Regions from separate parts of the Homo sapiens genome. Here all the other regions are linked to region 3. Evidence: promoter capture Hi-C in human tissues and cell types (Jung and others, 2019). All regions are on one chromosome and are shown on one strand. Each heading gives the region's core, a stretch centred on a gene start or on the middle of the fragment in contact. The rest is flanking DNA. Distances are from core to core; before and after follow the strand shown.

Evidence for each region. Contacts are between HindIII fragments. The study calls those that stand out against the background at their distance.
Region 1: a contact is called between a fragment that was not itself captured here and the fragment with the promoter of ADCY8 in region 3, in 2 of the 25 tissues and cell types used here (H1 embryonic stem cells and dorsolateral prefrontal cortex).
Region 2: a contact is called between the fragment with the promoter of EFR3A here and the fragment with the promoter of ADCY8 in region 3, in 2 of the 25 tissues and cell types used here (mesendoderm cells and thymus).
Region 4: a contact is called between a fragment that was not itself captured here and the fragment with the promoter of ADCY8 in region 3, in 1 of the 25 tissues and cell types used here (dorsolateral prefrontal cortex).

The regions. Positions count from the first base shown.
Region 1 is chr8:131,871,278-131,876,864 of GRCh38, forward strand. The region is part of intron 2 of LOC107986976 (a long non-coding RNA gene); the gene reads right to left. Among named protein-coding and RNA genes, the nearest start is that of EFR3A, 30 kb to the right of the region's middle. The HindIII fragment of the contact is 6,814 bases long and covers 77-5,587 here.
Region 2 is chr8:131,902,153-131,908,016 of GRCh38, forward strand. EFR3A (EFR3 homolog A) reads left to right here and starts at 1,941. Exons shown (of 23, transcript NM_015137.6): 1 at 1,941-2,170. The coding sequence starts at 2,161. RefSeq lists a silencer at 1,838-2,317 and an enhancer at 2,888-2,937. The HindIII fragment of the contact is 11,078 bases long and covers 1-5,864 here.
Region 3 is chr8:131,039,657-131,045,398 of GRCh38, forward strand. It overlaps ADCY8 (adenylate cyclase 8), which reads right to left and starts at 1,253. Exons shown (of 18, transcript NM_001115.3): 1 at 1-1,253. The coding sequence starts at 677. The region is part of intron 1 of LOC105375760 (a long non-coding RNA gene); the gene reads left to right. RefSeq lists enhancers at 453-992, 993-1,531. The HindIII fragment of the contact is 7,762 bases long and covers 178-5,742 here.
Region 4 is chr8:131,818,560-131,823,949 of GRCh38, forward strand. No RefSeq gene overlaps it. Among named protein-coding and RNA genes, the nearest start is that of EFR3A, 83 kb to the right of the region's middle. RefSeq lists an enhancer at 1,510-2,011. The HindIII fragment of the contact is 4,930 bases long and covers 315-5,244 here.

The sequences.
Region 1 (5,587 bases), core at 2,234-4,733, 830 kb after region 3:
ACATGAAGGACCTCTTCAAGGAGAACTACAAACCACTGCTCAATGAAATAAAAGAGGATACAAAGAAATGGAAGAACATTCCATGCTCATGGGTAGGAAGAATCAATATCGTGAAAATGGCCATACTGCCCAAGGTAATTTGTAGATTCAATGCCATCCCCATCAAGCTACCAATGACTTTCTTCACAGAATTGGAAAAAACTACTTTAAAGTTCATATGGAACCAAAAAAGAGCCTGCATCGCCAAGTCAATCCTAAGCCAAAAGAACAAAGCTGGAGGTATCATGCTACCTGACTTCAAACTATACTACAAGGCTACAGTAACCAAAACAGCATGCTACTGGTACCAAAACACAGATATAGATCAATGGAACAGAACAGAGCCCTCAGAAATAACACCACATATCTACAACTATCTGATCTTTGACAAACCTGAGAAAAACAAGCAATGGGGAAAGGATTCCCTATTTAATAAATGGTGCTGGGAAAACTGGCTAGCCATATGTAGAAAGCTGAAACTGGATCCCTTCCTTACACCTTATACAAAAATCAATTCAAGATGGATTAAAGACTTAAACGTTAGACCTAAAACCATAAAAACCCTAGAAGAAAACCTAGGCATTACCATTCAGGACATAGGCATGGGCAAGGACTTCACGTCTAAAACACCAAAAGCAATGGCAACAAAAGCCAAAATTGACAAATGGGATCTAATTAAACTAAAGAGCTTCTGCACAGCAAAAGAAACTACCATCAGAGTGAACAGGCAACCTACAAAATGGGAGAAAATTTTCGCAACCTACTCATCTGACAAAGGGCTAATATCCAGAATCTACAATGAACTCAAACAAATTTACAAGAAAAAAACAAACAACCCCATCAACAAGTGGGCGAAGGACATGAACAGACACTTCTCAAAAGAAGACATTTATGCAGCCAAAAAACACATGAAAAAATGCTCACCATCACTGGCCATCAGAGAAATGCAAATCAAAACCACAATGAGATACCATCTCACACCAGTTAGAATGGCAATCATTAAAAAGTCAGGAAACAACAGGTGCTGGAGAGGATGTGGAGAAATAGGAACACTTTTACACTGTTGGTGGGACTGTAAGCTAGTTCTACCACTGTGGAAGTCAGTGTGGTGATTCCTCAGGGATCTAGAACTAGAAATACCATTTGACCCAGCCATCCCATTACTGAGTATATACCCAAAAGACTATAAATCATGCTGCTATAAAGACACATGCACACGTATGTTTATTGTGGCACTATTCACAATAGCAAAGACTTGGAACCAACCCAAATGTCCAACAATGATAGACTGGATTAAGAAAATGTGGCACATATACACCATGGAATACTATGCAGCCATAAAAAAGGATGAGTTCATGTCCTTTGTAGGGACATGGATGAAATTGGAAACCATCATTCTCAGCAAACTATCACAAGGACAAAAAAACCAAACACTGCATGTTCTCACTCATAGGTGGAAATTGAACGATGAGAACACACGGACACAGGAAGGGGAACATCACATTCTGGGGACTGTTGTGGGGTGGGGGGAGGGGGGAGGGATAGCATTAGGAGATATACCTAATGCTAAATGACGAGTTAATGGGTGCAGCACACCAGCATGGCACATGTATACATATGTAACTAACCTGCACATTGTGCACATGTACCCTAAAACTTAAAGTATAATAATAATAAAATAAAAAATAATAATAAAAAATTTTTTAAAAATCCCTAATACGGAGAGTCCTGTAAGGTTTTAATTAGACCCAACTTTGTTAAGCCTGGAATGGGAAGAGAATAATGAGCTTCTACTTTGGGAGGTTATGATAATCAGAAATTCTGACAATACTGATTTACTGCAAGGCACAAGAAAGGCCTGGTCTCAGATGGTGGAGTGGAAGGGCATGCAGTTGCAATCTCTGTGAAAAGGGATTAGGTGCTTGGTCAACACACTAAATCTGTGTGCAAGAGCTCAAGATCACTCCAGTCTATAGGAATGCAGACATTTTTTTTCCCATCTTCTTTGGTATTAAAAAATAAATAAATCCTCTCATTGATACAGTGGGAAAGAATTTCAGAGGACATGTGACCTACATCCCTTTTTCAACCAATGGGGTTGAAGCAAAGAAGGGTTTTCTAAAGTTCAGTAAATTAAATAGACCCACGAGAAGGCAAATAGCTTTTTTCTACTTTTAGTTGTTGAAAAAATAGAACAAATTAGCAAATTATGAAAAAAATTAAAAATCAAATTCTACCGTCTTAGTAGTTTCATTTCATCTATGTAGGCATAAAGATTTTTGAAGTTGGGATGAGAAAGATGGATGATTTCCAGAGATTTATTTTATTTTATTTATTTAATTTTATGTTTTATTTTTATGACTACATCAAAGCTTTTATTTTCAATAGAGTTGATATGATTTGATCATAAGACTGGATGTGGCAACAGAAGATAGGGATTGAAGATTCCCAAGAATCTGATGTGGGTAACTGGGCAAACACCTTACGTAAACACCATCAGCCCAAGGAACAAATCAGAATCTCATTTTCGCAAACTATTCTTAGTGAATACTTGGCTATGTGAGTCCACCAATAGGTTCTACCAATAGACGCACTGGTTCAAGATGTCTATTCAAAAGTGAACAATGGGAGGCAGCCACCAGGACATAGAATTCCTTTTCCCAGAGGTCTGGGAGTGAAGTAGCAGAGGTTCAAGCGTACAGAGGCTAGCATCCTGTGTCCATGTCCAGGCTTGACATCAATGAGGTCTACTGTATCAGCCTTGCATTGTGTTTTAGGGAATAATTCTTGAAAATGAAGCTTTCAAACCTGATTCTTTTGATTTCCTTGGGAGTTCCTAAGTTACTTGTTACTGTAATACATTTCTTTTCTGCTCAAGGATACTAGAAGGGTATGATAACTGATCTCCAAAGATGGCCCTCTGTGAGCCTTACCTCCCAGTATCCGCAACCTTGTGCTGAACCCTCCTCTTGAATCTGGGTTGGCCCTGGGATGCACTCACAGCTGAATGTAGTGCAGTGATGCTGTGCCTTTCGTGACTGAGTCATAGGTAATCTTAAGCTTCCGCCTGTGCTCCTTGAAATGACGGCTCTTTGGAAGCTCTCATTTGGAACCCAGCTGCCATGCTGTCAGAAACTCAAGCCACCATCCCACTCCCTCCTCCTAGGAGTTGGAATTTTTTAGATTCCATATGTAAGTGTGATCATAAAAGATATTTGTCTCTCTGTGCCTGGCTTATTTCACTAGTGTAATGTCCTCTAGGTTCATCTATGTTGTTAAAAAGGACATAATTTCTCATTTTAAAGGCTGAATAGTATGCTATTGTGCATACATATTACATTTAAAAAATCACTCGTCCATTGATGGACACTTACGTTGTTTCCATATCTTGACTATTGTGAATAATGCTGCAATGAACATGGATGCAGAAATATTTTCAACACACAGATTTCAATCCCTTTGGGTAGAGACCCAGAAATGGGATTGCTGGATCATGTGGTAGTTTTAGTTTTAGTTTTTTGAGGAACCTACATACTGTTTTCCAAAATAGCTGTACTAATTTGTAATATCATCAACATCCTACAAGGATTCCCTTTTCTCTACATCACTTGTTATCTTTCCTCTTTTTGATATCAAAAGCTGGGAAAGTGAGGTGAACAGGGAGAAAGGAGAAGTTACTCAACTAGTACAAAGTTTCAGATCAAAAGGAGGAATAAATTCTAGTGTTTCACTACACAGCATGGTGACTATAGTAATAATGTATAATTCAAAATAGCTAAAAGAGAGGATTTAAATGTTCTCACCACAAAGAAATGATAAATATTTGAGGTGATGGGCATGCTAATTTACTTGATGTAATCATTCCACAATTGATACATTTATCAAAACATCACATTGTACTCTATAAATACATAGAATTATTATGCATCAATTAAAATAAAATAAAACTAATGAAAAAGAGAAACAAGCCACATGGAGAAACTATGTATAATGTCAGGACAAATGCAAATTAAAAGTAAGAGGCTTAATTCTCCCTATTGAAAATAAGGGAATAAATTTCCCTCCCCATCTTTTCATAGCATTTCCTTTGGAAAAACCTGTCATTTTAAATACTTTCTCCTTCTTTGAGGGGATAAGTCCTTTTTTCTAGATAAATTGTTTTAAAGACTAGGTAGGCCTTTTCTCAGCAGTATGATCCAGTAATACCTTCCTCTAGGGACTGGGAGCCATCTCTTTGAAATGGAACATCAAGGGAGACAGCACCCCTACCTCCCAATTTCTGTGAGAGAATAGTAATCTAACTTTGGTGGGTATCTTGATCCAAGTTGCAAAACACCTCCTATTACAGAGATATAAGAAGTTAGCTACCACAAATGGTCGCCCGATTACCAGGTAAAGTCAGGATGAACTAAATATGACATATGGTACTGTCAAGTCGTCTTACTTGATGGCTAGTTATTGTTTATCTTGAAAACAAGCATGCAATGGGTGATATTTGCTTGGCTATATAAAAGGGTGAGATGTTTTTTCCGTCTTTGCAGTGTCTTAGTGGACTGCCTGTGATGTGCATTGTATTCTGGTTTAATGTTTATTCAATAATAAAACTTTTATTTATCTACTACTTTTGTGGACAGATTTTCTGTGTTGGGAAAATAAATTTGTTTTAAATTATGCTTCCCCAAAAGTAGATGCCCTGTGTCAGCCCCAGTGGAGGTCCCAGATGACAGCCAGTATCAACTGTCAGCCATGGAGTGAGCAGTCCTGACATCCAGTCCCGTGAGCCCTCAGATGACTGCAGCCCCAGCCCACATCTGACTGCAGCCCCAGCCCACATCTGACTGCAGCTATGTGAGACCCTGCAAGCCAGAAATGCCCAGCTGAACCCAGTCAATCATAGAACCATGAAAGATAACAACCAATTATTGTTTTAGGCCACTATGTTTTGAGGTCACTTATTACACAGCAAGAGATAACCAAAACAAATGACTCGTTCTTGCAATTAAGAACTCTGGCTGATACATATAAACTTTCCTCTCCTTGGTGAAAAGTATCCTGAGAAATGAGAGTGCTTTCCACCTCTGAATTCCCCCATTGAAACTGGTGTTATTTTCTTTACAGAGTAGTTGCTAATAATTTTTTTTTTTTTTGCTTACATCTCTTTTTGGACAGATTGGGATTTAAACAAAATAAAAACAAGTTGGATGCAATGCTTGTCAGTTGAACAGAATATTTTTATCTAACAACTGCCTCTACAAAGCATTTGCTTCTGTTTGTTTACACACTCTGCAAATAATTTTCCTACAGTTTAAAGCCAATACACAGGAAATTGTGTTTAGAAAGTGCCAAGGCATTTTCAAAACCATTTTCAAGCTCTTCCCTTGGTTCATTGGGCATTTCAACGCTTATGCTCATTTCAGGGGACACGATTTTGGGCTTCTGTGCCCACCTTTCTTCCATTTTAACGGTATAATGAAAAGCTCCCTATTTCTTCACCATAGGGACCTTTTTCATAAGCATCCACTGAACACTGTAAAGACTGAAATGAAAT
Region 2 (5,864 bases), core at 691-3,190, 860 kb after region 3:
CACCACCAAGACTGAGCACCTAACACTCTCTCCTGTATTGGGGCCTTCCGATTTGGCTGCCTACCTCCACAGTTTCTCTGCCACACCATTCCCCCTGCAAGGCCCTGCTTCTGATAATTTAATGTTACTGTTATGCTTTTTGTAAAAATCACAGAACAGTTTCTTAAAAGACAAATTCCAAGGTTGAATGTAAAGTTGTTTATCAGTTTTATTTACCTGTTTTTGTTTTCATACTCTTGAATAAAATCCTTTATTTATATATTGAATTAATATACTCTGGCCCCCACCTGTGTGCCAGCCAAGGATACATAAACATGAACAGAATATGGCTTTTGCCATTTTCTGAAAAGCAAATAGGCCCATGGTAAAACACAAGCACTCATGACAGTTTATTTAGGATGCAGTGAGAAAAGTGCTGTAGCAGAGAGGAATCAAGATAATGCCAAAGTCTTAGGGAGAAAACTGGAAGCATGAAAGATTTTATAGGTGATAAAATATGCAACAGGGCATTAAAACATGAATAAGCACTAGGTAGTTTGGTCTTTACTGTTAGCAAGGGACAGTCTCTCTTTTTTTTTTTTTTTTTTTGAGATGGAGTCTTGCTCTGTAGCCCAGGCTAGAGTCCAGTGGCCCGATCTCGGCTCACTGCAAACTCCGTCTCCTGGGTTCAAGCGATTCTCCTTCCTCAGCTTCCCAAGTAGCTGAGTGAGAATATAGGCATGTGCCACCACCCCCGCCTAATTTTTGCATTTTCAGTACAGACAGGGTTTCGCCATGTTGGCCAGGCTGATCTCGAACTCCTGACCTCAGGTGATCTGCCCACCGCCCACCTCGGTCTCCCAAAGTGTTAGGATTACAGGCGTGAGCCACCGTTCCCAGCTGGACAGTCTCTTTTATAGGTACAGTACACACTCTCCTCTCCCCAGCTGCCATGACTCACTCTAAATTACCCTTCATCCTCTCCCCAGCCTCTTTTAGGACTCCCCTAGGCTTTGCTAATTCAAATTCTGCTTTCTTCCAAGTCCACCTCAAGCCAAGACTAATTTCTCCTCAGCGCTTCCTAGCTCTGATCTTCATGTTCTTCATCTTCTCCTCCCAGTACTGCACAATATCATTTCTTAATCAGAAGGTTAGCCCTACTTTTTAGGACAAAGGTTCTCAGTATTATCATTGTATTTAAATCATCTGTATATGTGTTCGTAGATTTGGCTCAGCACCTAGGAATCTGCTTTTCAACAAGTCCCCAGGGGATCCAAGCACAAAAGGATCCTGGACCACTTTGACCCACTTTGAGGAAGGCTGTGTTAAACCTCTGCGGTTGGCTTTTATATCTCCATATGGGCTGTCCGCAGCCCACGGCGCCTAGCATAGTGTAGGTGCGTTGCTCAGCTCTCTGGCTCCCGGTGTCTGCTCAGCTTGGTGACTATTAGATACCTCAATTATTAATGACACCCAGAGTCAAGAAGAGTAGCTCAGCCAAGTGCACAGAGCTGCCCTCTCCAGAGGAGACTAACTCCTGAGGGATAAGGTCGCTCTGAAAGTCACAAGAGCAAAAGGAAATTACATTTTCTGCCCTCTCAAAAAATGAGCAGCCATCACCCCAAATGACCTTAGTGCATCTCAAATAAACCATGCTTTCAGAGTATGCAAAACGCACTGCAAGTTAAACCGATTGCAAAAGAAAAAGCCCACAGGTACTCCGTGCGCTCAAAGCCATCATCCTCACAAACGTAAAGTGATGCACTCCAAATAGAGATCAAGGAAAACGAATGCCACGCAGGTCACCAGGCTTGGAAAATAGAAGGCACCCGAAGTTGTTCTACGTGGCTGTCCCCAGCCACCCATTCCACCCGCTCGACAAGGGATCCTGGGCCGAGCCCGGCCATCCGCGGGGGCGGGGCCGGGACGGCGGCGGCGCGCTGACGTAACGGGCGTGGGTCGTCCGTCGCGCCGCCCGGCGAGGAGTGGGCTGGCGGCGGTAGCTGTCGCCCGCTTGGTTGCGTGACCGCGGGGTCCGCGTCCGCTCCCTCCACCCTTCGCCCTTCGCCCTTCGCCTCGTTCCGGCCTCCGCGGCCCAGCAACGGCCGTCATGGTGCCGTCGGCGCTCCCTGCGCGGCCCCGCTGAGCCTCGGTGCGGCGGCGAGCGCGGTCGAGATCGCCATGCCTACCCGTGAGTGGCCGGCCGAGGGCCGGGGGCGTTGGGAGGCGACTGCCTGCGCGACGCGCTTGGGCCGGGTACTCCTCCCGGGCGGCTGGGGAGGCTGGGCCGCGCTGAGCAGAGCCAGGAAGTGTCTGCGAGCGGCGGAGTTAGTTTCGTTTCGGCTTAGCCTTCCGGAGATGGCGTGAGCCCGTTGCACGGATCGGGAAACTGAGGCCCGAACGTTAAGGGAACTGCGGGGACGCGCTGTTAGGAGGCGGCAGAGCTGGTGGTAACCTGACCCGTGGGATTTCAAAGTTAAAGCCCTTTTCCCACGGCCACACGGCTTCGTGGGACTTTATGGAAATATTGAAAATAACTGCGGTACCATTGTCAGTCCCTTCTCACCTCGGGCCGGACGTCGCTAGTGGACGCGCCGGCCCCGAGTCCCTTCCCGCGGCCGCCAGACAGACCCCCGACAGCCTAACTCGGCGTCCGTATCGCCGTCGGGGCGGCTGAAGTCGGAGCTTTCTGTGGAGCTTGTTAGGCAGAGGCACCTCGACTGTGGCTTTTGGACCACACTTCGGATTCACCCGGGCAGATGATTAAAAATGCCGGTTTCGGGACCCGCCCTATTCCCATGGAATTAGTCTGGAGCTTGGGCCCCGGAGTCTGCATGTCTAATAAGCGTCCCTGGGGTTACCAAGGCACCCCAAAGTTTAAAAGTCACTCGGTGTTGGAGGATTTTTAGACAGACGCGATACTACAAGTACTGCTAATGACCTATTTTAAAATGACCCAGATAATCGCAGTGTGACTTTATAGCCACTGGTCAATGTGGATATGTGCAAACTAGGGAAGCTCCTGATCTTGGGTAGAGAGGAAGCAACTTTGTCATTGATTTGAGAATTCAAGTAGGACTCCTTTGACTAAGTGTTCAATACTATAGAATCTTTACACACTTGTGAATATATTTCCTAGAATTCATAACTACTTCTAGTTGTCCTTGTTTTGTAGCCATCTGGGACGCTGAATTTCCAGGTCAGTCTCCAATGCACGTTTCGTCTAGTGGTGGGAAAAGATGAGTTATTTCTTGATATTATAAAGATTGATATTTTCCTGATATTTAAGGATATTAAATTTAAATTGATATTAAAGATATTTAAATATCTTTTTGAGATTTAAAGATTTTCCTGTGGCAAATCTTTACATAGTCCTGATGTAGAGATTACTTTTAACTCCTCATACATGTGTGGGTACTGTGGATTTTGTTTTCTTCACACACTACTGTGTGTCCTTAACTCACGTTCTTGGACTTCGCATCCAGTAAATATGTCCAGTTTAAATTTCTGTTTTATTCCTTTTGGCTGGAGGAATATCATTTACAATCATCTTCATTGTTATTGCCAGTTTAGTACTTCTAAATTCATGTTCACGTTATTCAGTGAATATCTGAGACTAGCACTATGCTAATCTTTTATTTTCTGAGAAACCAAAGGGGAGGAGGTAAGCACCTATTGAAAGTTGAGGCTTCAAGTAGAATTTATTGGTAACATGCCAGAATTATCCTGTGAAATAAAATTTTTAGTTATGTTCTAGGGTTATCTAGCTTCACAGAGTGGATATAGTAAACTCGTTTCTTTTCAAATGTTGAGTTCATTCTGCAAAATGATTTTAGGATGGGCCATGGTGGAGTTTACATAGTTAAGAATGCAGATTTCACACCCTGACTGGAAGACAAGTGAAATGTTTGTTTTATCTGTCATTGTTAATATTTGTCATGGTACATTTTTTATGACTGAATAAAAATGTGCTGTGGATTGATTGGGGGTACCAGTGTGAGGTGAATAGTGTTCATATTTGCCTTTTCTCTCCTTTGGCAGTCACAGCTGCCGAAATTGCTGGGATAGTGCAGTGGACAACAATATTTCTTTGAAATTCTGTTTGTAGAATATATATCCAACACAGAGATGGCAAAATTGTTATTCTCTGTAGGAATTTAGGAGGAAGTTCACAGCTCTTAGGAGGAAAACTGTGCTCAGATAAGCTAAGTGTTTTTGTTTGATTGGTTGTTTTAATGTTAAATGGTTGAGAGGCTTAGTGATAAGCCCAAGCCAGTTAATCCGTACGAGTTTTAATTAAAATCAAAGGGTTGGAGGTGATCACTGTGGTCTCTCAGACTCTACAATTCCGAGAGCAACCCTTGCTGTAAGTCATAGAATTATTCTACTCTTGCTATTTTGTTGCTTATTTGGAATATTGGTACTCATTGAAACTGTTGTTAATAACTAGAATCCAGTGAAGCATGCAGTAACCCCACTGGTTAAGCAATGATATATCTCATGAATATTAACAGCCACTTCACTAGAATTATTTTGGAGATCCGTAGACTCTTTGAGAAAGCAACCACCTGGAAGGATGCCTGACAGGAAACTGCCAGGACACAGAAACAATTTTGTGGTCGTGTTACAAGCCTGTAGTCTGAAACAATCCTTAGGCACAGATTTCAAGACTATGCTGCTGAATGCTGTTGCAAACCTGTAAACCTATAATTTGACACATCATTTTTCTAGAGGCCTTTATTTCATTCTCCATTCAAAGGACCATTAAGAAGCGTTTTATTTGAAAGATTTTCAAACTCTGAATCGGAGTTTGAGTTGGAACGACTGTTAAAGCTTCTTCATCATTTTATGTTGTGTATCGGGAAGCTGAGCCTTCTGAGAGTTTCCATGGAGTAAAACCATGACTTGAACACAGAACTGGCCCCTATAATCAGTAACCACAGTGAGCATAGTAACATTAATTTTTCTCTAGCACTAAATTGATAATAGTTTAGCCTTTTTTTCCCCTTGAGTTACATTAAGACAAATGTAAGCTTGGTCAAAAATTTAAATCGTTCTGTGAACTTACAAGAATGCATTTGCTTCCATCCTGTCACAGAAATCTTTGGAAAAGCTGTGGATATCACTGGTGTGCTAAGTAGATTCTTGTTTATATAGACACAAACTTAAACTTTTAGTAAACTCCTTATGTGAAAATGGCTCCTGAGTTCACAGATAACTTGCCTCAAAACAGGTCCGGTAAAATGTGCTCTTTTATTTTATATGAAAAGTTATTCTATATTTTCTAGGGAAAACCAAAACTCTCAAATATTGTTTGCTGTTAAACTATACTTTGAGTAATTATGTGTGTTGAATGCTTTCTTTTCTCATTTAGGTACTGACGTTGAGGTCTAGGCAAATTTCTTAGGCTGTAATAATAATATGGTTACTCCATGTTTGTTTTTCTTTTGATGAGGCTAATTACATTTAACTTATTTTTTAATTTATTTTTATGAAAGAAATGCAGAATGAATTATAAAAGAGGGTTGCTGATTGAAGTGTTTTCCTTTTAGAGACACATTACATGCAAACTTGACCTACACTTTCATATTACTGGATTATTAGCCTTTTGTGTTCATTCATATTCTCATTCTTTCTCTCCCCTTTTCCCCTCTTCCCCCCTTTCCTCATTGTCCCTTTGCTTCCTTCTCCCCTCCCCTCCCATCTCCCTCCTTCCTCCCTTCTTCTACCCACCACCTATGTGTCCTGCCAGAGTTGTAGCTGATGAATTTTCTTTTTTGCAGTGACCTTTGGCTTGACACTGCCCTGTTTGCTGCCCAGATCTCATCTTTCAGTCTGTCCCCACTTGTGGGGACATGGGGCTACATTAATGATTATGTAGGTGG
Region 3 (5,742 bases), core at 3-2,502:
ATCACTACCTCAATGCCGGTGAAGAAGCCCAGCAGGATGCCCTTGAGCGGGTCCATGGGGGCCGAGGCCAGGCTCAAGTGTAGGACCAAGAGAGTGAGTTTGGTCAGCACGTCCAGCACGTTCATCACCACTTCCGATTTGCGCCTTTGGCCCAAGAAATAGCGCTGGTAGAGGCGTTCCAAATCCCGAGATTTGAAGGAGTTGCGCAGGGTGGGGAAAATGACCCCTCGGTAGCTATAGCCCCCATTAAGAAAGAAATCCGAGTTGCTAGGGGCACAGTCAAGGTGCAGGAAGCCCAGGTCGCCCCCGCCTCCGCTGCCGCTGGCACTGCCGCTCCCGCTGCGTTCCGGGAAGACTTTGGTGCCGCAGGTGCTGTGCGCTCGCTCTCCCGGGCCCAGCGAGTAGAGGGGCAGCGCCGAGTCGCCTGACAGCTGCGGCGCGTGGTGGTTGGGGCCGCCGCCCGCAGGGTCCGAGGCTTTGCCCGAGCCTCCACTCCCGCTGCCGCTGCCTCCCCGGTGCCCGTGAATGAAGCGCTGCTCCGTGATGTGTCGCACCGCCGTCTGCCACAGCAGCCGCTGCGGCCGGGAGGCGCTCCTGCCGTCGCCGGCCGGGGGCGTCGGGTGGATGGTGTAGAGTTCCTCGCTGCCTGTAAGGCAGCGCACATCGGAGAGCTCCATGGCTCTGGGCCGCAGGGAAGGAGGCCCAGAACCTTGGGGAGGCAGCCGGAGGAGGGGTTCCTAAAGACTCAAAGGCGGCCTGGTAGGAGCTTGGCAAGGATCCTTTTTATCCTAGGCTGCCCCGTTGCAGGAGCCCTGCGCTAGGGCTCCCTGTAGGTCGGGTCATACTGTGCCCAGGGGCAAAGGGCACCTGGAAGATCGCGGCGGACCTCGGCGTCCTTGCGTGCTGCTCTCCCGCCAGCCGGCGCAGCTTGGGTACGCAGCGGCAGTGGCTATTTGTCCTCAGGAGCCGCAGCGCTGTGAGCCACGCAGCCCCTTCCTGGGCTCAGGCTCCTTGGTTGATTCTAGGCTCAGCGTTTTGGCGCAGCCTTTGCTCTCCAAGAGACGCCTAAGCGCCTGGGCGCCGTGCTTCTGCTGCGCGTCGGGCGGGTCCTGGCTGCTGCACTGGGCTTTGGACGCCCACTGCTCCGCGGCTGCAGGGGGCCTGGCCGGCGGTGACCGGCGGCAGCGATGGGTGCGAAGTTAGCAGATGTGGCTGGAATCATCGCCCTTCGGAGAACTCCATTGCGCCGGGATGGGGAGCAGGGGCGGAGCTGGGGGCGGGGGCAAAGAAGGAGGAGGAGGGGGTCACGGTGAGGTGGCGGGGCGCCCCGCGACAGGGTTGGAGAGGTGGTAGCCTCGGCGCTAACAATTCACCAAATAGTTAATTTGGAGGAAGGGGTATGCTGAGGCTCCCTCCTAGGCTCTTTCCTAGTTCGGGAGCAAGGACTGACAGCGCAGCGCTGGCTCTGGCCAGAAGCATCCCTCCCGGAGGGGGTGTGGGGACTCTCGCTCCAGGGTCCCAGCCTGAGCTATAAGACGAGGTCAACGCTTTCAGCTGTGCTTTCGAAGGGTCGCAGCACACAGTTCTCATCCCCTTTATTTCGTTCTTTGGAGTCCATTTGGCTCGGAGCTAGGAGGATCAGGAGAGGCGGGGGAAGGAAAAAGTGGTGAGGGCTCCAAAGCCAAGAGCTCCGAGAACGAAGAGAAGCCGCCGGTGCGGATATCTGAGGCTGAGAACCGAAGCTTGGCGGATGAGGCGAAGGTTTGGAGGAGAAGGGAGGCCCGAGGCCGCGTGGAAGTCGACAGAGACGCCTCTGGATCTAGGGAAGCGCCGCCGCGTGCCACCCTGGAGCTCTGAAACGCACCGCGGGCGCCAGGCGACTGGGAGAAATTTGGAGACCTGTCAGAGTGGTCAGACACCCGCGGTGACTTAAACCCGCCCCCGCGCCAAGCCACGCCCCCGGAACCGGGCCGGGGGTGGCGGAGGGACCTGCCATCCAGATCTGGCCAGGACGCCCCAGGTCTTGTAGGCAGAGGCACGCGCGGGCCGGCGTGGGAGAGGACCACTGAGGGCTAGGGCCGGCGGGCGCCCCCGGCCTTCCCTGGGCGCACTGCGATCCAGCGTTCCAGCTGGCCGCGCCAGCCGGTTCCTCCGCTGTTCTTTTTTAGGCATTGGCTCTTGTCCTCTGCAGGTGCGGAGCCAGGACTCGTAGGCCGCTTTGCGCACGGACTCGGAGAGCCCAGCGCGACGGAATACAGGGTTTCCTTTTCGCCCTTCCTACCCGTGCGTCTTTTGGCAAAGCCAACTTTCGGGCTAAACGCAAAATCCCCCAAGAGGCCGCAATCATAGAGGCAGTCAGTTTCCTACAGGAGCCTCTTTACTACCTCGATCCGAAGGGGGTGGAGGGTACGGGACATCAAAATGGGGACGTCCCCTGCCTGCCTCGCACACTAAGTTTCTCCGCTTACAATAGGGTCGAGGAGGCGGACGTGGAGAAAGGCATGTCCAGGGGCCCCGCCTCGCCCTAGCCCAGGTTTCCCGCCCGCCCAGACTCAGCCGAGCGCTAGCGGACAAAGCCTGCGGCGGAGCTTGCGGCGGACCAAGTCGCTGAGCGGTGGGAGCTTAGTGCCGGTGCTAATGACAGATGAGCCGCGTCCCGGGGTGCAGGGTCTGCAGGGCAAACGCGGCCGCCGCAGTCCCGCAGCCGGATGCAGGTGGAGGAGCGGTGGTGGTCACCACCTCCTCCACCAAGACTGCGGCTGCAGCCAGTGGAGCCCGGGCCCAGAGCACAGTCAGCTGATGGCCAATGACGTCAGGCCCTGGGCGCGTTCGCGGCTCCCCGTGGCGTCCCATGAAAGCCCAAATGACCGCCTTGCCTTGCCGCCCCCTCAGTCCCTCCTGAGCAAGAAGAGAAGCTCCCTTCCCTCCTGCCTGTCCTAAGGAAAAATAATTTCGATACCCCCACCCCCAACCACATACACTGTCTCCAGGGTTATTTCTGTCGGCCGTGTCCCAGAAACGCGGGGTTTAATTCTTTGCTTTTTAATTCCTGTTTTTCTCCCCACGCATTTCGGCTTCGGGTTAAACCCAAAACGGGCCACCTGCCTTGCACACAGAATTCCAGAAGGAAGAGAAAAGAATCCTCTAATATTCCCCCCAATCCCTAACCAGTAGATTTCTAGAATTTCGTTCACTCCCTGGAAAAGACTTCTTTAATTTCAATCCTTTTAAGTTGTATTCTACCATCCCCCAAGAAAGCCAAAATGAAACGCTCAACTTTAAATAGATAGACGGCTGATTCTATTTTTAACTCTGCTTGTAGATGAATTAATCTGTTAACATTAAAGATCTCCCAGAATAGTTGGCCTATCCCATGGGCCTGGAAGTTAAGGGTAAAAGTACCTCAAACAACTCTGTGTTACAGTTATCTAGCCCTTAATGAAATAACCCCTGCAATTACATTCCTGTCAAAGAAATGCTTCTTGCTTCTTCCTTCCTGAATTTCTTGGACTCATCAGCCTCACCCTACTGGAACTCGGGTGGGTAATGAGTCTCTTAACTTGAGATGGGAACCCAGACGGAGCACAGCTGGGAAGGCTGTCCTATAGACCCTATGCCAGAATGTGTGGGTAGCTGTGTCCTCTCTCTGCGGGCATTGCCCGAAGGCATCTGTGCTAATGACCATATTAGCAAACTTGGCAATGGAAGGCATCACTTTATTTTCTCACTTCTTTCTCCTTGGGGCCCTAAGGACTCAGCCTGAATAAATGAGGGGCTGGATGCAGTTGGAACTTTCCTATGAAAATCTTTCTCCAACCTGGACAGCTCCCAGGATGATTTATTCAGCAGCAAAAGGAGGCGGGCCAAGGAGGGGGAGATTGGACCCAATCAGATAAAATGACTCAGGCTGATGAATGAACACAGCATGCTACAGAAAGAAACTCAATTTCATGAACTCAGAGGTTGAAGCTAATGCATCAGGGAGAACACATCACATCTGTTCAACTGACTGAACGCTTCATGGCTGGAAGGGTGTTACCGTAGATTGTTTTAAAATAAGAACATGGATGACACAATTAGATTCCGATGTTCTTCTTGTTGGGATGACATAGTGCCATTCAGCCCAAGAAGCATTCTGTTTTTGAATGAAAGCATTGGTTCAACACAAATATTTAGAAGCTTTTTGGAATATGCAAACCACCAAATGATTAAGAGCCACTTAAAACAAGAGAAGTCGGCTGGGGGCGGTGGCTCACGCCTGTAATCCCAGCACTTCGGGAGGCCGAGGCCGGCGGATCACGAGGTCAAGAGAATGAGACCATCCTGGCCAACATGGTGAAACCCCCTATCTCCTAAAAATACAAAAACTAGCTAGGTGTGGTGGCGCATGCCTGTAATCCCAGCTACTCGGGAGGCTGAGGTAAGAGAATCACCTCAACTCGGGAGGCAGAGGTTGCAGTGAACCGAGATCACGCCATTGCACTCCAGCGTGGGCGACAAGAGTGAAACTCCGTCAAAGAAAGAAAGAAGAAGAAAGAAAGAAAGAAAGAGAGTGAAAGGGAAAAAATCAAGAGAAGTCCACACATTCTTTTGAAGCTATGATAGATCTTTCATAATGCTTTCATTTATCCTCTGCATATTTATTAAGGCAGGGTCTCTACTGTGATCTGAGGACAGCGTTTTAACAATTCAGTGTCTTTTTGCACACAACTTCCTCCTCTTCCCCTGTATTCCTCCCTGAATATACTTGCTTACCTCATCCTTCAAAGTTTGAGCAATGTTGTCTCTGCATGAGAACTTTCCTGATATCCCCATTGAGAACTAATGACTTCCTTCTCTGTTTAATAGTCTGTTATGGGTACTTTTGGTATGGTCCCTTATACAGGGACTAGCCATTGGCGTATGTATCTGTCACTCCTCCCCATGAAACAGTGAGCTCCCTGAAGCGAAAAACTGATTTTCCTTGGGCCCATATCCCCCAACTTCTAGCAACTATAATTTACATAGAGATAATAAGATAATAATAATGTTAGCCACGATTTAGCACCTACTAGGTGTCAGCTCTTTCTTAAGATTTTTTACAAATGTCCCATTTAATCATTCTAGTAATTATGTGAATTAGGTCCTTCTCTATTTTATTATTTCCATCTTACTGACTAGGATACTGAGTACCGAGGCTTCATGTGGCTAAGTACCTTGCCCAGGATCTCGTGGTTAAATCCAATGCTTAAAGTTGTATTGCAGGAATCTGACATCCACATGCTCAATAAAAATGCTGTCATAAGCAGTCAGTAACTGATAGAAATAAAAATGTCACTTTTTTGAGTTTTCAAAGGCAAAGTAAATAAGAAACTTCTGAGACATTTAGACTTTGAGAAATCTGTTAGGATGAGCCTGAATCGCAGATGAAGGTAGTAGAACTCTTTATTGTTTGAATGGAGGGCCTACTAATTCTGTTTCTGTTCAAAACTTAGACACTATTTCTATAATTTATAGAAAAAAACCAGACTTTCACAATTGAGTTTAACGAAAATACTTAACTTGGTGTAATTTATTTCATTTAGGTAGTTGTGGTGGTGGGGGAAATATCCTATTGTTTCACTGGAAAATAACTTATTTGTTTAGTGATGTTGCTACATACCATTGGCCACATTTACAGTAGATATGTTTAAGAAAAGGAAATTTGTTTTCTCCCTTGATGTACCTTTGACTTCCTAGGTTGATTATATTAATATATGAATT
Region 4 (5,390 bases), core at 1,530-4,029, 780 kb after region 3:
CTTTTGCTAAATATTTATTGAGTAAATGAGTAAAAGCTGCAGTTATTCAGTTGAAAGGGCATTGTATTTTAATATCATCTATTTTGAGTACACATCAGAGACATTATCAACTTTTTATAAACCACATAACAAAATTGCAGACTGTGTTCATCCCAATTTTACTCAATAGGAAATGAGACTCAAAGGGATCATGTTCAAGGCCACACAGCTTGTGGATGACAGAGACAAGATTCAAAACCTTGTCTGATTCTAGAGCCCAGGGATTTTCTGCTCCACCATGCTGCTGTCCAGTAAGAGACACATCAACTCAAAGTCCTCCACCAGCCCTAGTTTTTGATATGACCTAGACAAACATTTTCTGTAAAGGGACAGATAGTGAATATTTTAGGCTTTGAAGGACATATAGTTTCTGTTGCAACTAATCTACTCTGTTGTACTTTGAAAGCAGCCATGGATAATATGTAAACAAATGAGCTTTGTTGTATTCCAATAAAACTTTATTTGCAAAAACAAGTGACAAGCCAAATTTGGCTCATAGGCCATAGTTTGCAAACCCTCTAACCTAGAGCAATTCAATTCCCCAATGTTAGCTTTGTATTTTTCATCCATAAACTGGGTAGTTTGGATTTGATGCCTACTAAGGTGACTTTGTACTCTGAAACTCAAGTATTAATTACTGTTCTGAAGTCCCCCAAAATCCTGTTATGTTTATTGTATCAGTGATAAGAAAGGTACAATGTAAGTGTTATTCAATAAAAACATTAACATAAATGTGTGTTCAGAAAAAAAACTATTAAAAAGAAACACACAATGCATACAGTGAAAAATGTAGCCAATATAAACTAAAGCACAAAAAAGGAAAAACCTTAGCCACGTATTATCATACGAGAGTTTTTTGCTTTATCATTTCTACTATATAAAATAATCTAACACTTCTTTAAAACTAGGCTTTTAATTTTAGCTTGTGCTATCACTTAAAATGTAGGTGCCCTCATTCCCCTTCAAACATTTTAAATATTGATTCTTGCTTTTAGAAGGTTATAATTAACACATATGGAAATATAGACTTACCCATTATAAACCTTTAGAGATCCATAAATAAATATTTACTCTTATAGCATACAGTTGTTGTAAGCATTGAATAAGATTGTGTACCTGGCAAAAACCTGACCAAATGGAGGTGTTTCATCCATTTTAATTGTTGTTGTGGTTATCAGTTTTACTGACTTCTGTTTAATGTTGATGTCAGAAGCAATGTTTTATACATTAGATCTGTGATCCTCAACTGGGGGCAATTTTGACCCCCAGGAGATATTCAGTGATGTCAAAGATATTTTTGGTTGAGACGACTAGGTGCTGCTTCTAGCACCCAGTAAGTAGAGACCAGAGATGCTGCCAAACACCCTTCAATTCACAGACTAGCTCCTCACAGCAAAGAGTTATCCAGCCTAAATGTCAATAGTGTTAAGGTAGAGACACACTGCATCAGACCCAATAACCCCTATTCCTCGCATGGTTCCAAACAGAACACAAAGTATTGTCAATAAATGTTTGTGATTGAATAAATGAATAAGTGGATGAACAAAAGTAGTTACTGTTAGGCCTCTGAGCCCAAGCTAAGCCATCATATCTCCTGTGACCTGCACATACACATCCAGATGGCCAGTTCCTGCCTTAACTGATGACATTCCACCACAAAAGAAATGAAAATGGCCTGTTCCTGCCTTAACTTATGACATTATCTTGTGAAATTCCTTCTCCTGGCTCATCCTGGCTCAAAAGCTCCCCTGCTGAGCACCTTGTGACCCAACACCTGCCCACCAGAGAACAACTCCCTTTGACTGTAATTTTCCTTTACACTATGGGCAAGCTTCCGACCTCCATTCCCCCTTCTTCTCCCTTAGCTTGTGTTCTTAAAAACATAAAACCTCTTCAACTCACACCTGACCTAAAACCTAAATGCCTTATTTTCTTCTACAATGCCGCTTGACCCCAATACAAACTCGACAGTAGTTCCAAATAGCCAGAAAATGGCATTTTCAATTTTTCCATCCTACAAGATCTAAATAATTCTTGTCGTAAAATGGGCAAGTGGTCTGAGGTGCCTGACATCCAGGCATTCTTTTACACATTGGTCCCTCCCTAGTCTCTGTTCCCAATGCAACTAGTCCCAAATCTTCCATCTTTCCCTCCCGCCTGTCCCCTCAGTCCCAACCCCAAGCGTCGCTGAGTCTTTCTAATCTTCCTTTTCTACAGACCCATCTGACCTCTCCCCTCCTTGCCAGGCTGAGCTAGGTCCCGATTCTTCCTCAGCCTCTGCTCCTCCACCCTATAGTCCTTTTATCACCTCCCCTCCTCACACTTGGTCTGGCTTACAGTTTTGTTCCCTGACTAGCCCTCCCCCACCTGCCCAGCAATTTCCTCTTAAAAAGGTGGCTGGAGCTAAAGGCATAGTCAAGGTTAATGCTCCTTTTTCTTTATCCTAAATCAGATAGCGTTTAGGCTCTTTTTCATCAAATACAAAAATCCAGCCCAGTTCATGGCTCGTTTGGCAGCAACACTGAGATGCTTTACAGCCCTAGACCCTGAAAGGTCAGAAGGCCGTCTTATTCTCAATATGCATTTTATTTTATTACCCAATCTGCTCCCGACATGAAATAAAGCTCCAAAAATTAAATTCTGGCCCTCAAACCCCACAACAGGACTTAATGAACCTTGCCTTCAAGGTGTACAATAATAGAGTAGAGGCAGCCAAGTAGCAATGTATTTCTGAGTTGCAATTCTTTGCCTCCATTGAGACAAACCCCAGCCACGTCTCCAGCACACAAGAACTCCAAAAGCCTGAACCACAGCTGCCAGGGGTTCCTCCAGAACCTCCTCCCCCAGGAGCTTGCTACAAGTGCCAGAAATCTGGCCACTGGGCCAAGGAATGCCCACAGCCTGGGATTCCTCCTAAGCTGTATCCCAACTGCGTTGGACCCCACTGAAAATCGGACTGTCCAACTCACCTGGCAGCCACTCCCAGAGCCCCTAGAACTCTGGCCCCAGGCTCTGACTGACTCCTTCCCAGACCTTCTTGGCTTAGCAGCTGAAGACTGACACTGCCTGATCACCTCGAAAGCCTACAGGACCATCACAGATGATCTGGGTAACTCTCACAGTGGAAGGTAAGTCTGTCCTCTTCTTAATCAATACGGAGGCTACCCACTCCACATTACCTTCCTTTCAAGGGCCTGTTTCCATTGCCTCTATAACTGTTGTACGTATTGACAGCCAGGCTTCTAAACCTCTTAAAACTCTCCAACTCTGGTGCCAACTTAGACAACACTCTTTTAAGCACTCCTTTTTAATTATCACTCCTTTTTAATTATCAGCCCAGTTCCCTTATTAGGCGGAGACACTTTAACTAAATTATCTGCTTCCCTGACTATTCCTGGACTACAGCCACATCTCATTGCCACCCTTCTTCCCAATCCAAAGCCTCCTTTGCATCCTCCTCTTGTATCCCCCCACCTTAACCCACAAGTATCGGATACCTCTACTCCCTTCTTGGTGACAATGATGCACCCCTTACCATCTCATTAAAACCTAATCACCCTTACCCCGCTCAATGCCAATATCCCATCCCACAGCATGCTTTAAAAGGATTAAAGCCTGTTATCACTTGCCTCCTAGAGCATGGGCTTCTAAAACCTATAAACTCTCCTTCGAATTCCCCCATTTTACCTGTCCAAAAACCGGACAAGTCTTACAGATTAGTTTAGGATCTGCACCTTATCAACCAAATTGTTTTGCCTATCCACACCGTGGTGCCAAACCCATATACTCTCCTATCCTCGATACCTCCCTCCACAACCCTTTATTCTGTTCTAGATCTCAAACATGTTTTCTTTACTATTCCTTTACACCCGTCATCCCAGCCTCTCTTCGCTTTCACTTGGACTGACCCTGACACCCATCAGGCCCAGCAAATTACCTGGGCTGTACTGCCACAAAGCTTCACAGACAGCCCCTATTACTTCAGTCAAGCCCAAATTTCTTCCTCATCTGTTACCTATCTTGGCATAATTCTCATAAAAACACACGTGCTCTCCCTGCCGATCATGTCCAGCAGATCTCTCAAACCCCAACACCTTCTACAAAACAACAACTCCTTTCCTTCCTAGGCATAGTTAGATACTTTCACCTTTAGATACCTGGTTTTGCCATCCTAACAAAACCATTATATAAACTCACAAAAGGAAACCTAGCTGACCCCATGGATCCTAAATCCTTTCCCCACTCCTCTTTCCATTCCTTGAAGACAGCTTTAGAGACTGCCCCATCCTAGCTCTCCCTGACTCATCCCAACTCTTTTCATTACCCACAGCCGAAGTGCAGGGCTGTGCAGTCAGAATTCTTATACAAGAACCAGGACTGCATCCTGTAGCCTTTTTATCCAAACAACTTGACCTTACTGTTTTGCCTAGCCCTCAAGTCTGCGTGCGGGGGCCGCCACCGCCCTAATACTTTTAGAGGCCCTTAAAATCACAAACTATACTCAACTCGCTCTCTACATTTCTCATAACTTCCAAAATCTATTTTATTCCTCACACCTGACGTATATACTTTCTGCTTCCTGGCTCCTTCAGCTGTACTCACTCTTTGTTAAGTCTCCACAATTACCATTGTTCCTGGCCCGGACTTCAATCTGGCCTCCCACATTATTCCTGATACCACAACTGACCCCCATGACTGTATCTCTCTGACCCACCTGACATTCACCCCATTTCCCCATATTTCCTTCTTTCCTGTTCCTCACCCTGATCACACTTGGTTTATTGACGGCAGTTCCACCAGGCCTAATCGCCACACACCAGCAAAGGCAGGCTATGCTATAGTACAAGCCAGTAGCCCACCTCTTAGAACCTCTCACTTCCTTTCCATCGTGGAAATCTGTCCTCAAGGAAATAACTTCTCAGTGTTCCATCTGCTATTCTACTACTCCTCAGGGATTATTCAGGCCCCCTCCCTTCCCTACACATCAAGCTCGGAGATTTGCCCACACCCAGGACTGGCAAATTGACTTTACTCACATGCCCCGAGTCAGAAAACTAAAATATCTCCTAGTCTAGGTAGACACTTTTACTGGATGGGTAGAGGCCTTTCCTACAGGGTCTGAGAAGGCCACCGCAGTCATTTCTTCCCTTCTGTCAGATATAATTCCTCGGTTTGGCCTTCCCACCTCTATACAGTCTGATAACAGACCAGCCTTTATTAGTCAAATCAGCCAAGCATTTTTTCAGGCTCTTGATATTCAGTGAAACTTTTATATCCCTTAAGGTCCTCAGTCTTCAGGAAAGGTAGAATGGACTAATAGTCTTTTAAAAACACACCTCACCAAGCCCAGC